Linked DNA regions of Homo sapiens: region 1 is linked to region 2. The links are contacts of gene promoters, found by promoter capture Hi-C in blood cells and fetal thymus (Javierre and others, 2016). All regions are on one chromosome and are shown on one strand. The core of a region is centred on a gene start or on the middle of the fragment in contact, and the rest is flanking DNA. Distances in the headings are between cores, read along the strand shown. Region 1 overlaps CCSER2 (coiled-coil serine rich protein 2). Region 2 holds the start of LRIT1 (leucine rich repeat, Ig-like and transmembrane domains 1).

What was found. The method cuts DNA at HindIII sites, captures the fragments that hold promoters and counts their contacts. A CHiCAGO score of 5 or more calls a contact.
Region 1: a fragment that was not itself captured here is called in contact with the fragment with the promoter of LRIT1 in region 2 in 1 of 17 cell types (activated CD4 T cells); the score reaches 5.5 in activated CD4 T cells.

Annotation. Positions count from the first base shown.
Region 1 is chr10:84,475,897-84,482,563 of GRCh38, reverse strand. It overlaps CCSER2 (coiled-coil serine rich protein 2), which reads right to left. Exons shown (of 10, transcript NM_001284240.2): 9 at 4,900-4,989. Among named protein-coding and RNA genes, the nearest start is that of CCSER2, 150 kb to the right of the region's middle. The HindIII fragment of the contact is 666 bases long and covers 4,067-4,732 here.
Region 2 is chr10:84,239,989-84,246,469 of GRCh38, reverse strand. LRIT1 (leucine rich repeat, Ig-like and transmembrane domains 1) reads left to right here and starts at 4,924. Exons shown (of 4, transcript NM_015613.3): 1 at 4,924-5,152. The coding sequence starts at 5,031. It overlaps RGR (retinal G protein coupled receptor), which reads right to left and starts at 1,417. Exons shown (of 7, transcript NM_001012720.2): 1 at 1,301-1,417. The coding sequence starts at 1,379. RefSeq lists an enhancer at 772-1,271. The HindIII fragment of the contact is 15,150 bases long and covers 3,909-6,481 here.

The sequences.
Region 1 (6,667 bases), core at 3,150-5,649, 240 kb before region 2:
TTTAAATACTGATGTTAAATGCTTTTAAAACAGTATTGGAAATACATAAAAATAAATTCAGTCCAAGATAATGCTAATTTTTAAGAATATGCTTGTACATGGATCTGTACACTATGCTTAAAAATAGTTTCGTAAGTTTTTATGTTTAAAATGAATCTTGATTTCTCGCATAACCAACAACCTCCAGCAGTATTCACAGTAATATCAACTATTTTCATGTGAATGATTAGGCATCTTCCATATTGTTATTCTTCTTTTCGCGTTACTCATTTCACCATTGTATCCGGGTATTTTGCCCCTCAGATAAGAAAAATAATTGCCCCACTTTCCTCTGGAAGTATCATTTTCTGCTCTTACGGCTCATTCTTATCTCTTTTCCCTCTTTTTTCCTCCACCTAAATCTGAACTCCATGTTTTTTATTTTCCTTCATTTCTTCTGAAAACTGCTTTTACTGACTTGCCCTTTACTTATTGTTCTAGGTAGCTTTCCATATCCATGTAAGTAGATATCATTAGGTCCAGGGCTGCTTTGTCCAAAATGATGTCAATTAGCTACATGTGACTATTTACATTTAAATTAATTACAACTAAACAAAATTTAAAATTCTCTTCCTTCATTTTCAAGTGCTCAACAGTCACATGTAGCTACAGGCTACTACAATGGACAGCACAGAAAGTTGTATAGGACTGTGCCGCTCTAGAGTAGGGCATTCTCAATTCTGGAATACGGTCCTATGGCTGCCCTCTTTTTATAATGCAAGGCTCAGGGGAGTTTATAACACTACATTATTGCTTTCCCAAGCAGAAGATAGACCCCTTACTCCACTAAGACGTGCTTCACACTCTGGTCCTCAATGCTGAAAACACTGTTCTTAAAAACTTATACTTAAAAACATCCTGTACTATGCCTACAGCATGGCTTAGGCAACTCCCTACGGTAGTAGAAACCTTTGTCTTGCCCTAAATGAAGAGCACCCACCAGGTGACTAGCCACTATTCCCTTGCTGGGTTCAGTCTCACAAATAATAACCAAACCAAACCCAAACAGTTTTGATCTTTATCAGTACAGTTCTAACACCAAAAGCACCTGTAGCATGAAAGCCAAATTTTACTACAGGCAGAAAAAAACTCCTAAAATTCTGAGGATCAATATATATAAAATCAATATATATAAAATATATAAAAAATTTTGTGTATTGATATACACAAAAGCTGAGGTTGAATATATGCAGAAAATAGCATGATAAAATGGTTTTCAGGCCAGGAGGAAGAAAGAATTTGTAAGGTAAGAAAACATTACATAACAGGAATGGTCATAACATAAATAGTTGGGAGTGGCTTCCCAGTACCACCTGAAATGATAGTGTGGGGCACAAGGGGTAACCCTCCTGCCCTTGTATTTCCTCGTTTGTGGAGGGAAATATCAGGGGCTTTTTTTAAATAAACTAATGACATCAAACACTTGAATCACACAACCTAACATCACGGCCACCAAGCCACTTTCTGGTCATACTTAGTTGGTGGTAGTATAAGCCTGTATAAACCTTTCAGAAAAAAAACTGTAGTAATTTATTTCAAGAACCTTACAAAGACCATCCAGTAAAGGAATTAATTCCTTAACTTGATTAAAGGTAATGCATTTCTTCATTTTGGTTTAGTAAAAAAATCAAACCAAATATTAATAGCAACCACCATCACCACTACCTACGTAGGTTAAAATGCCACATATACAACATAATCCCATCTAAATAGAGATGACAGATGGCACATACACATATACACACAACACCAAACAAGGCTGGAAGACCATATATAAAATGTTAACAATGACTGTCATTGGCTTGTATGATTTAAGTACTTTAAATTTTTCTTAAGTTGTTTTGCTTCTCTATTTTCTATATTTGCTATAGAATAAATATATCGTTATCTCTCAATAAAAATAGGAAAGGAAAAATCCACTTTACAGTACTTCTCTTTTAAACGTACATATTTTGGCCTCAGGTTACTCATAAAGTATTCTTAGTATTCTATTTTTTCATGCTTTTAATGAGAGGTATTGAATTTTATTATTTCTATTGAGAAAATGACTTACATAATTTAATATGTCAAAAGATTTCTTTGTACTCACATTAGATTGAAACTAACTTGGTTGTAGAGGAGTTTTCTTATTACACTCTTACTGAAACTATGCCTTTTCAACCAAAAATACTTTTTTCTCAGTAATTTAAAATACAAGTATGTGGTCAGGCATGGTGGCTCATGTCTGTAATCCCAGCATTTGGGGAGGCTGAGGCAAAAAGATCACCTGAGCCCAGGAGTGTGAGACCCCTGTCTCTACAAAAAATAAAAAAATTAGCCAGGCATGGTGGTGCACACCTGTGGTCCCAGATACTTGGGAGGCTGAGGCAGGAGGATCACTTGAGCCCAGGAGGTCAAGGCTATAGTGGACCATAATTGCACCATTGCACTCTAGCCTGGGTGACAGACCAAGACCCTGTCTCAAAATAAATTAAATAACTTTTAAAATACAAGTATGTTTCTATGGATTATCACAGTATACTGCTAAGTCTTCTACCATGCAGTGCAAACCTGGGCACCTGTTTTTTTTCCTCTCAGGGAAGTTAAGTCCTTATTGTGATCTCTCACTAAGATTAAGCCTCTGTCCTCCCTTCCCAGAGCTATGATCCTTTTCTCTTCTCTATTCCTTCTAGCCCCCTCACCCTCCTGCAACCATTCAAAAGAAAAGCAACTAAAATAAGACTGCTGTATACAAGTTGTGTAAACACTTGCATAAGTCACTTCTTAGTCTTAGCTTCTTCACATGCAGAAAAAGAGTGAGCTTACTATCATTTAAGCACACTGGAGGTTTCTACAAGCATCTTGAGGGATGGAACTTTATATTTACACATGTATTTTTATATTCTTCTTTATATTTACACATCCAAATTAATACAGTGCCTGGCATGAAGTAGGCACATAAATATCTGCTGAATAAGCAAGTGAATATCTGCTTTTCCTCCTTTCCCCTTTTCTACTACTATATTTCTTCCTCTTATTTCCTGTTGATTCTCTACTTCAGAGATCTTATTTGCAGCCATTAAGTGACACAAAATCCCCTTGGACAAATCTCAATACATTCAAATTTTTGCTCTGCTGCTGTTGGCAGCAAACCACTCTCCTTCAAAGGCTCTTCAATGTGCTTTTGGGGAAAAGAACCTAGAACTAGCAGTCAAGAGTCCTAAGTTATAGTACTAGCTCAGCCACTTATTAATTATGGGAACTTTGCTATGCCAGTTAATCTCCCCAGCTTTTGCTACCTTATCTACAAAACAAAGGTATTTGGCCAGATGATTCCTATAGTAACTTTTATAGTTACTTTTTTTATAGTTACTTTTGTCTGATGAGGAGGAAGACTAACATCCAGTTTCCAGAACAGTGAGGCTGAAGGAGCCAGAGGTGGTATAAAGACTTCCATGAGGATGGCAAAATGGAACTTATCATGCTTAATGGAATCACCAGTCTTCTTAGTAGTACAATTATAAGGCATAACATCCCTATGGGGTAAATGGAGACACCTGGAAAGCCCAAACTTCCATCTAGAAGCAAGGGGCATGGTCTTCTATTAAACAACTGTCTGCAAACAGATGAGCTTCCACCGCCTTTGACATTAAATAATATCACATCATCTTTTTCTGTTGGTATCTTTTGCTTTCTATGATTCAAACACAACCTTCATTTTCTTCACCAAGCTCCTTGATTCTTTCAACTAGACTTTCCCACATCCTTTGAACCTTATAGACTTACACAGCACTTTAACTACATCAATGCATTCCCAATTTCTTAAGAAGTACTTATAAACAGAGGAATCCTTATTTGTCTGTATTTCCTTCCCTAATTCCCCACTTCTAGTTTGAAAGCCAAATATCTGGGATGAAAGGGGATCATCAAACTTTTGTTGAATAAATTAATTCCTACCATTGTATCTTATACAGAGCACAAAAAAAATACTTGTTAGATGAAAAGAAACAAAACTCTTTTATAAACTTTAAAGGCTTATGGCTAAGCTTTATAAACTGAATTGCTGATTATATTAGCCATTATATTTCTCTGTTCCTTTGTGTTACTAGGATTCCACTCCTAAATATAAGGCAAAAGAGTCAAGGCTGACTTATTAGGCAATCTCTTAACAAGAAATGTCTACTACCTGGCCCCAAACAACAGCAGAATGACTAATGTCCATATGATAATTCTCTGGCTCACACACATCCTGCACTAAGTTCTGAGAACTCAGATTAAATGATAGAGTATTTTTAGCACTAAACATGTTTTGAGATATAACATTTTTGAAAAACAAATAAGCATGGAATACATAGTTACTTCCTATTTAAAATAAACCATTCCCTAGTTCTGCCTAAAACATAACTTTTATTGTCTGTATCTTCGTGCATTTATATTTCCTAACACCCTCAACATTTGAGTAATTATAATAAACATATTTGAAAAGTTTTAACAAAAAAGGAATATGCTAAATCATATATTTTCAAAGTGTCATATGCTGCTAAAGTGGGATGACTGCATACAGGACTGCTATTTCCTTTAAGGCATGTGGAACTACTCTCATAAATCATGCAATAAGAGGAGAGTAGACACGCAAATAAAATGAACTATAGTATGTAGAATGAAAAAGCTATTAAAATGCACATTCACTTACATAAGACACACAAGAGAAGCTTTAGGAAAACACATAAACACCTAAGAGACAAGCAAAAATAAATTACCTACAAAAAAATTAACAGCCATGACAGATTCAAAATCATTAGAGATTGCTGTAAAAAGAGTGAAATAAAACATCAAAATAGCAAATGACTGGAGAGGAGGCTAAGAGCAAATGTTACTTACAGGAATTCGTCTCCAGGGTGTTTGGGTATATTTATCAGCATAAGTGCATTTTTCCTCTTTACATTTTTGGTGGCAGATATGCTGAGTTGCCTAAACAAAAACACAAAATTTTTACATTGGTTTAATTCTGCATATACACACCAAGACACACAAGAGAAACTTTAGGAAAACACATAAAACACCTAAGAGACAAGCAAAACTAAATTACCTATAAAAAAAATTAACAGCCATGACAGGAGGTAATCAGGGCTCTTTTAGGGGGTATGTAACCAAATCAACAAAAAAGTCACACATGGCAAAATAGTTCTGGCTACTTTTTTGAAGAAAAAATGTTATCACAGCCAACAATAAGGTCTATTCAGTGGTCTCTCATCTTATTCAGGGAGTGGGTTTGAGAGTCAGCCTGTAAGGTTAGAATTTTGAATAATCTAAATTACCCTTGGCAATCTCTTATATTGTCCATAAAACATACAATATATGATTTTATGTATATCAATATAAAGAGTTAAGTATATGGATGTAGAATATATAGGGATATTCAGTATATAAAGAATACAACTGCAGAATTTACAGTATTTCCCTAAACTGTCATGGTACTACAGTCACTAAAGCTCAGTTTCTTAAATCCATATTTTAATGGGACTCTGCTGGACATTGAATACCACCAGTCCACTTGTCAGGATGTCTGTTCTCATGTGCAGTGTGATGAAGCCTCTTTCATGATGTATTGACTTTACTGGACTGAAATATTTTGAAGAGTGTCAGCCCTTTGACAAGATCCATCTGACCATTTCTGTTCACAAATGATTTCTCCACACGATTCCACTCAAAGCACACTCATTTATATAACACAAAGTAACTTTCCCAAATAATCATCACTTTCAAAAAAGATCATGAAAATACTGATAAAAAGAATTCTCCCGGCCAGGCACGGTGGCTCACGCCTGTAATCCCAGCACTTTGGGAGGCCGAGGCGGGCGGATCACGAGGTCAGGAGAAGCAGACCATCCTGGCTAACACAGTGAAACCTCATCTCTACTAAAAATACAAAAAATTTGCCGGATGTGGTGGCGGGCACCTGTAGTCCCAGCTACTCCGGAGGCTGAGGCAGGAGAATGGCATGAACCCGGAAGCAGAGCTTGCAGTGAGCACAGATTGCACCACTGCACTCCAGCCTGGGTGACAGAGGGAGACACCATTTCAAAAAAAAAAAAAAAAAAAAAAAAAAAGAGAGAGAATTCACCCTTAGTGACAAGCTAGAAAATAACCACATTATTTGTTAAACAACCTCACTGGAGGTAGATATACTTTCTCATAGGAAACTAAAAAATTCTTGATTATTCCATCAGGTTAAAATGATACATTTCTACTTTAATAATATTTACCCATATTCAAAATTTTTCTTAACTGCAATCAGATCATTACAATTTCCTTATACAAAATAAAATCTAAAAACAAAAATGTCTATCATAGAGACATATTTCCCATTCCTAACAAATGAGACAGTCACTGAAACAAAATTCAATATAGGCTGGGTGCAGTAGCTCACACCTGTACTCCCAGTACTTTGGGAGGCTGTGGCTGGCGGATTGCTTGGGCCCAGGGGTTCCAGACCAGCCTGGGCAACAAGGCAAAACCCTGTATCTACAAAAAACACACAACAAAAACAGCCAGGCATGGTAGCATGTGCCTGTAGTCCCAGCTACCCGGGAGGTTGAGTGAGAGGATCACCTGAGCTTGGGAGGTTGAGGCCACAGTGTGCTGAGAT
Region 2 (6,481 bases), core at 3,675-6,174:
TCAGTTACAAGTGGGAGCTAAACCGTGAGTACGCAAAGGCATTCAGAGGACACAATGGACTCTGGAGACTCAGAAGGGGAAGGGTGGGAGAGGGAGTGGGATTAAAAAAACCTACAAATGAGGCACAATGTACGCTACTTGGGTGATGAGTGCACTAAAGTCCTAGCATTTGCCACGATGTAATTCATCTATGTAAACAAAAATCACTTGTATCCCCAAAGCTATTGAAATTTAAAACATATTTTAAATAAAATAAAAACCAAAGCATTGTGTATATAATGACATTTCTAGTCATTAAACATGAAATAAAAATGTAAATTTAAACCCCTTCCAAAAAATAAAGTGGTAAAATTTTATGGCATGTTTGAGGACCTGGAAGGATGCTAGATTGTAGGGTTCTCAGGAAAGGGAGACACGGGCTGGGGCCACCAGACAGTCGTGTCCAGAGCCTTCAGGACCAATCTAATGACTGTCACTTCCTCTCCATTGTCAGTTCTCATTAGGTGAGAAAACGTGCTGATGATTTCTCTGGGTCTGCTTTGAACCAAAGCTGCGTTCTCCATCAATTTAGCTTGGGCTGGCCCAGATTCAGGATTGACACTGTCTCTAGCTCTGGCCTCAGCGAGCATCTTAGGGATTCTAGGTTGAGGTAGGTACCTCGCAGACCCAGGTTGCCTCCAGAGGTGAAGTGCTTGGGCTCATAGGAGTAGACACAGTGAAAATAGTGGTGGGGCTGGAGAGGATGGGAGTGAATGAACTTAAATACCCTAGAGTCTATTTAGGCTAGCACTTTATACCCATTATCCCATTTAATCTTTACAACCACCCATTCGGAATGTCAAGGCATTGAGGGCAGAGAGCTGAAGGGACTTGGTTCCAGCCACACAAGAGCAGGAGGCAGAGCTGTCTGTCCCCAGAGCCTTTTGGGGGACTGATCTTATGTGGGATTCTCAGCAGGATTTCCAAGGAGTGGATTAAATTTTCTCCCGGCTGGAGGGACATGAAAAGTCCTAAAGCCTGGCTCTTGATCATCTCCTGGGCAGATGTCCCCTTTCAAAGTCCCTCCCTCCCTGACCCTTGCCTGGCTTCCTCTCTGCTCCCAGCGGGCAGTGTGCTGCACCTCACAGGTTCAATTGTCAGAACACCCCCCGAGTCCGGGCACAGAGGGGAAGGCAGCCAATGGGACCGGACACCCAGCTGGGTTTGGGGACCTCTCCTCTCCTTGCCAGCTCCACACTGGTGGCCTGGGTCCTCAGAACCCACTGGGCCCCCGCTGCACCCCAGGTTCTGCCTGGCTCACCTTCCACCAGTAGCACCATCCCCACAGCCAGCACCTCGAGCTCCCCGAAGCCAGTGGGCAGGGCACTGGTCTCTGCCATCCTCACTCTCCCTCACTGCCAGTGGCCCAGCTGTCTCTGGCTTCCCACAGCCAGGCCCTCCCTTTTAAAGGGCCATCCCATGTGCGTGGAGGCACATGCAGGTTATTATGTTGGACCTTGGGCTGTTTCTGGATGCCTCCCCGCTGCAAATGGTCCTCTTGGCCCAAGCAGAAGGAACCCATTCACGAGTTGGACAATGCAGCCTTTGTGAAGCCAGAATGGAGCCCTGTCTCATTCATTTCAGCCCCATTGCACAGGATTAAGGTCGGGGAATCCAAATGGTGTGTGGCTGAGAGCCTAATTGGAAAAGAGTTGCATAACCAGGGGAGGGGAGCAGGAGGAGGGATTTGAGCCGCAGCTGTTCCCAACAAGCCTGGTGCCTGTGTGTGTGTCCTCAGGCTCACATGAGTATACTCCAAAGCGCTGGGGAAAGGATGAGGCTTGGGAAGTCGCCTGCTGTCAGAGGAAGAACCCCATCTGGGACCAGAAAATGGGGTTGGGGTTCTGGTTCTGAATCTGCCACTAACTAGTTATGCGCCTTGGAGTGGGACCACTGGACTCTTCCGTTTACTTTTCTGCAATGTCAATGTCTTTTGTCTGTGGCCTTTATATAAGTCCTGGTTAGATATCACGAATATAAACCTCAGGGCTGCATTTCCTGTCTCCCATAGAGCACCTGAGCATAAAAAATGTCCTAGGACACTGTCTTAGAACAGAGGGGCTGCCTGCCGTCTTGTCAGTCTCCGACCCCGAACCCGCCCAGCCTTGCCGGCCCCACTAAGAGCTTTGGCTGCTACAAATGACTTCTTGATACACTGGCTCTTTATGCACTGTTATGCTCTGGCTCATGATAAAATTTACACCAGGAAATACTGATCTAGGACAACTTAGTTCATTTTCAGATAAAGAAACCAAGCTCCAGAGCACTATCAGCAACATAGCTAATATTGAGTGAGGTCAGGCCCTGTGCTAGGGGATCTTCTGATGAGTCCTACAACAACTCCATGAGTTAGATACCATTATCCTTTCCATTTTAGATGAGGAAACTGTGGCTAAAAACAGTTAAGAATCTGCCTGAGGCCATGCAGTAATTTATGGATGGAGCTGGAACAAAAGCCGATCTCCTATTCCTCAGGCTCAGGCATTTTTCAATGGCATCTTCTGACTCACCTGGTAGAGCAACCCACTCTGTTCCAGGAATGCCCACTTCCCAGGCCTTTCCTCTCATGAGTCCTCACTTACATCCAAGCCTAATCCCTCTGCAGGGCTGAGCTTATGGCTGCGCCCTCCAGAGCGTTCCCTGTTCTTTCTCAATTTCTTTTTTGTTTTTTTGTTTGTTTTTGAGATGGAGTCTCGCTCTGTCGCCCAGGCTGGAGTGCAATGGCGCAATCTCGGCTCACGCAACCTCTACCTCCCCAGTTCAAGCTATTCTCCTGCCTCAGCCTCCCGAGTAGCTGGGATTACAGGCATGTGCCACCATGCTCGGCTAATTTTGTATTTTTATTAGAGACAGGGTTTCTCCATGTTGGTCAGGCTGGTCTTGAACTCCCGACCTCAGGTGATCTGCTGGCCTTGGACTCCCAAAATGCTGGGATAACAGTCATGAGCCACCCTGCCTGGCCTTCTGTCTCAATTTCTACCTTATGGTGTTGGTTAATACATATGTCAGTCCTTTTTTCATGCCTTCGAGATCACAAAAGCCTTCATGAGAGGAGATAAAGCAGGGCAAGGCCAAGATTAAAGGGTAAAGTTCATTTGGGCAAAAGACACAAGGAGGAAGAAGCAGAGATGTGGGAACAGGCAAGCTGACGGCTGGGTTTGGGGAGGTGGAAGTATAGCTGGGAAGCACTGAGAAAATCCTACTGGCTGCATTGGAAGGAAGGAAAGAATGAGAAGCCAGTATTGTTGAAACAGACCTGGCTCCGAGCTAGGCATTTTATGTGTGCACTGGGGCCCCAGATATCTTTGCAGGTCATACCTCACTGGTCTAGGCCTGCCTGGAGCCACAGGCATGAAGGACTGGGGAACCTTCTAGAAAAGCCAAACAACATAGGTAGGGCATGCTGGACCAGAGAACAATGCCTCAGGGTCAAATGTGAAGAATGAATGAATGAGTCGACTGAGTGTCTACTGCTGGGAATCATCCCTGGTCAGTCCCCACTGGCATCTTGAGTAGATATGGTGGGGCGAGATAGGGTTAGGAGAGAATAAGTAAAAATTGAAATTAGTCTGGGTGCAGTGGCTCAGGCCTGTAATCCCAGCACTTTGGGAGACTGAGGTAGGAGGATCGCTTGAGGCCAGGAGTTTGAGACCATCCTGGGCAACATGGCAAGACCCTGACTGCAAAAAATAATTTTTTAAAAATAGCCAAACATGGTGGTGGTTGCCTGCAGTTCCAGCTACTTGCGAGGCTGAGGCAGGAGGATGGCTTGAGCTCAGGAGTTCGGGGCTACAGTGAGCTATGATTACACCATTGCACTCCACTCTGAGTGACAGAGCAACCCTGTCCCTATAAAGCAAAACAAAGCTTTATGGATGGAGAATTTCCAAAGGCCCTTATTAGAGGTTGGGGTCCTGTCTCCAAAAAAACCTGAAAGTGCCTTCTCTAAGACCTCTCTGAGCTACCTCTCTGGGGCCCTCCTTGGAGTAGGGCACCTTGAGGAGAGGGGTGCCCTTGTCCCTTATGTGGAGACATCTCCACCTTTGGCATTCGTAGCAATGCCCAGAAGGGCTCAGCTGAAATAGTAGTGTGTTGAGTCCATATCCATGGGGCACTCAAGGCAGGCAGCTGTTTGCCTGGCAGCCTGGGACAGTTTGTGGGCTCATGAGAGACACCTCTGATGTCTCCCCAAAATATCTGAATCTGTCCAGTTCTTCTGTAAGTAGGGTCTTATAAGTACCAGTGAAACTGGGCACTTACAACTTGTGAGAGAGCTTCTGTTCCCACAGGCTGTCAAGGCCTTGGAATTTGAGTTTGATTTTCACAAACACCCTGCATGAAGTAACTTTATTTCTCTTTGTCAGATAAGGACACAGAGGCCAAGAGATAATGTGACTCACCCAAGGTCACAGCCCCTTAATGGAGCAGCTGGGATTTGACCCCAGGAAGCCTGGGTCCAGAGCTTAGCCTCCTTCCAATGCCTTTAGCACCATCAGGAAGAGTTGCTTCATTTCACTGCTTTTTTGCTATGAGACAGTGTCACAGGAAAGAATTTCCAAAGGCCCTTACTGAGGCGGGGGTTCTTTCTCCATCTTCCCTGGCACTCCAGTGGGGTCTGTGTTGTCCGTGGCCTTGTTGGGATGGGATGCTTTGCAGATGACAGTCCCATGGCTGCTCGCCTCTGGAAAGCTGCCTACTTGTCTTGCTTTGCTGTGCCCTGCCCTGGCCTCTCTGGGCCTGTGGATATTGCTATGGAAGGGGGTCCCCCGCCCCTACCCTCAGGACTGAGTGATTCAGAAAGCAATAAGCCTCTGAGTGCTGCGGCTGGGACTCCCCTCCCTAATCCCCAGTCTGTCCATGTTTATCCGATGGCCTCAGGAGGGGGTGTAAGGGGCTGGCGAGCAAGTGGGCAGCTGCTGAGCTTGCTGGGCCGGTGGGACGGAGCGGTCCAGGGACAGGCCCCTGCCTGGGCCAGAGAGGAGCCAGGAGCCATGAGGGTGGCATTAGGCATGCTCTGGCTCTTGGCCCTTGCGTGGCCCCCCCAGGCCCGGGGCTTCTGCCCCTCTCAATGCAGCTGCAGCCTCCATATCATGGGTGATGGCAGCAAGGCCAGGTATGGTACCGGGTGCGTGGGACGGGCAGCCCAGCCTCCATTGCTTTGCCAGCTAGGCTGGGTTGGGAGGAGTTGGAGCTGGGGCCCTGGGTGAGGTCTTCATCTCCCTTGGCCCTTGAGGACCAGGGATCCTATGGGGTGGACTGTGCTGCATTGTTTTCCAGCAGGCAAGGGGGTGACTCTATTCGAGAGGTACCAGGTATCTATACACATGGGCCCGAGGGTGAGGCACAAGTATGTCAGTTCTAAGAAGTCCTTCCTAAGTCCTCCTCCAGGCTCCTGGTGAAGAGCCCTCCTTAAAGGTCCAGGAAATCTCCTCCCTTACTGCTTTTTCTTCTCTTTTATTTTTTCTATTCCCTCTTCTTTTCTATATTTCCCCAGCCCCTTCTTTCCCAGGCCACTTGCACTCTCTTGCCTGACCTCTCTACAATATTCAATCATATCCCAGGCATTTCCTACAACCCCACCCATGATGGGACCACTTGCCTCTCATTCTCTTCCTCCTCTCCATCTTCGCTGGCCAGATCCCAGGAGCCTCAGCCTCAATACCTTTTTATGAGTGCTCCAAAAGCCAGGAGTGCCCATCCCATGACAAGCATGCTTCCTTCCATCCCCAGCCTTTTCCTTGACTTTCCCCACCCTCTGTCTGATCCCTCAGAGCACCTCCATTCTCTCCTCCTCTCCTTTCATGGGACATTCCCATGCCACTGTGGCTTGTGGACCCTTGCTCTTCCACTACTGCTCATTTTCTTCTTTTCTTTAGCAACGTTTAAATCATCTTTTCTCCAACTTCTTTAGCTTATCCATTAATGACCTCTGCATGGTTTCTGAGCCACTGATGGTTTCTGATCCTGGGAACAATGTTATTGGAGCTACCCTTTTAATAATCTTGGCAATGAATGTCGAGTTGATTGGGGGATGAGAGGAGAATGGAGAAGAACCACTAAGAAAAGACACCTCAAATGATCTGAGAACCAGAATGAGCTCCACTGTAGCCCAAGTGTCCAAGGCATCAACTCATATGAAGTGTAAGGGTCCTGTCCCCAGTAGAAGCCAGGCTGAGCCCTGAACAGCCTGCTGTTCCCAGCCTGGGCAGTGTCACTGGAGTGACAAAAAGCCTCCCACCACCCGTAGAAGGCATAGGGCTGAAAGCCACACAGCATCATTGACAAAACCGGTCCTGGAACCCAGGCATTCCGATTCAGTTTTCAGAACACTTATCTGGTGATGCTGCCATGGGCAGGGACCAGTGGTAAGTTCCAGGCAGCAGAGTTAATCTTAAGATGGAAAATGAGTTTCTAGGGCCGCTAATGTAAGTCAGTGGGCATT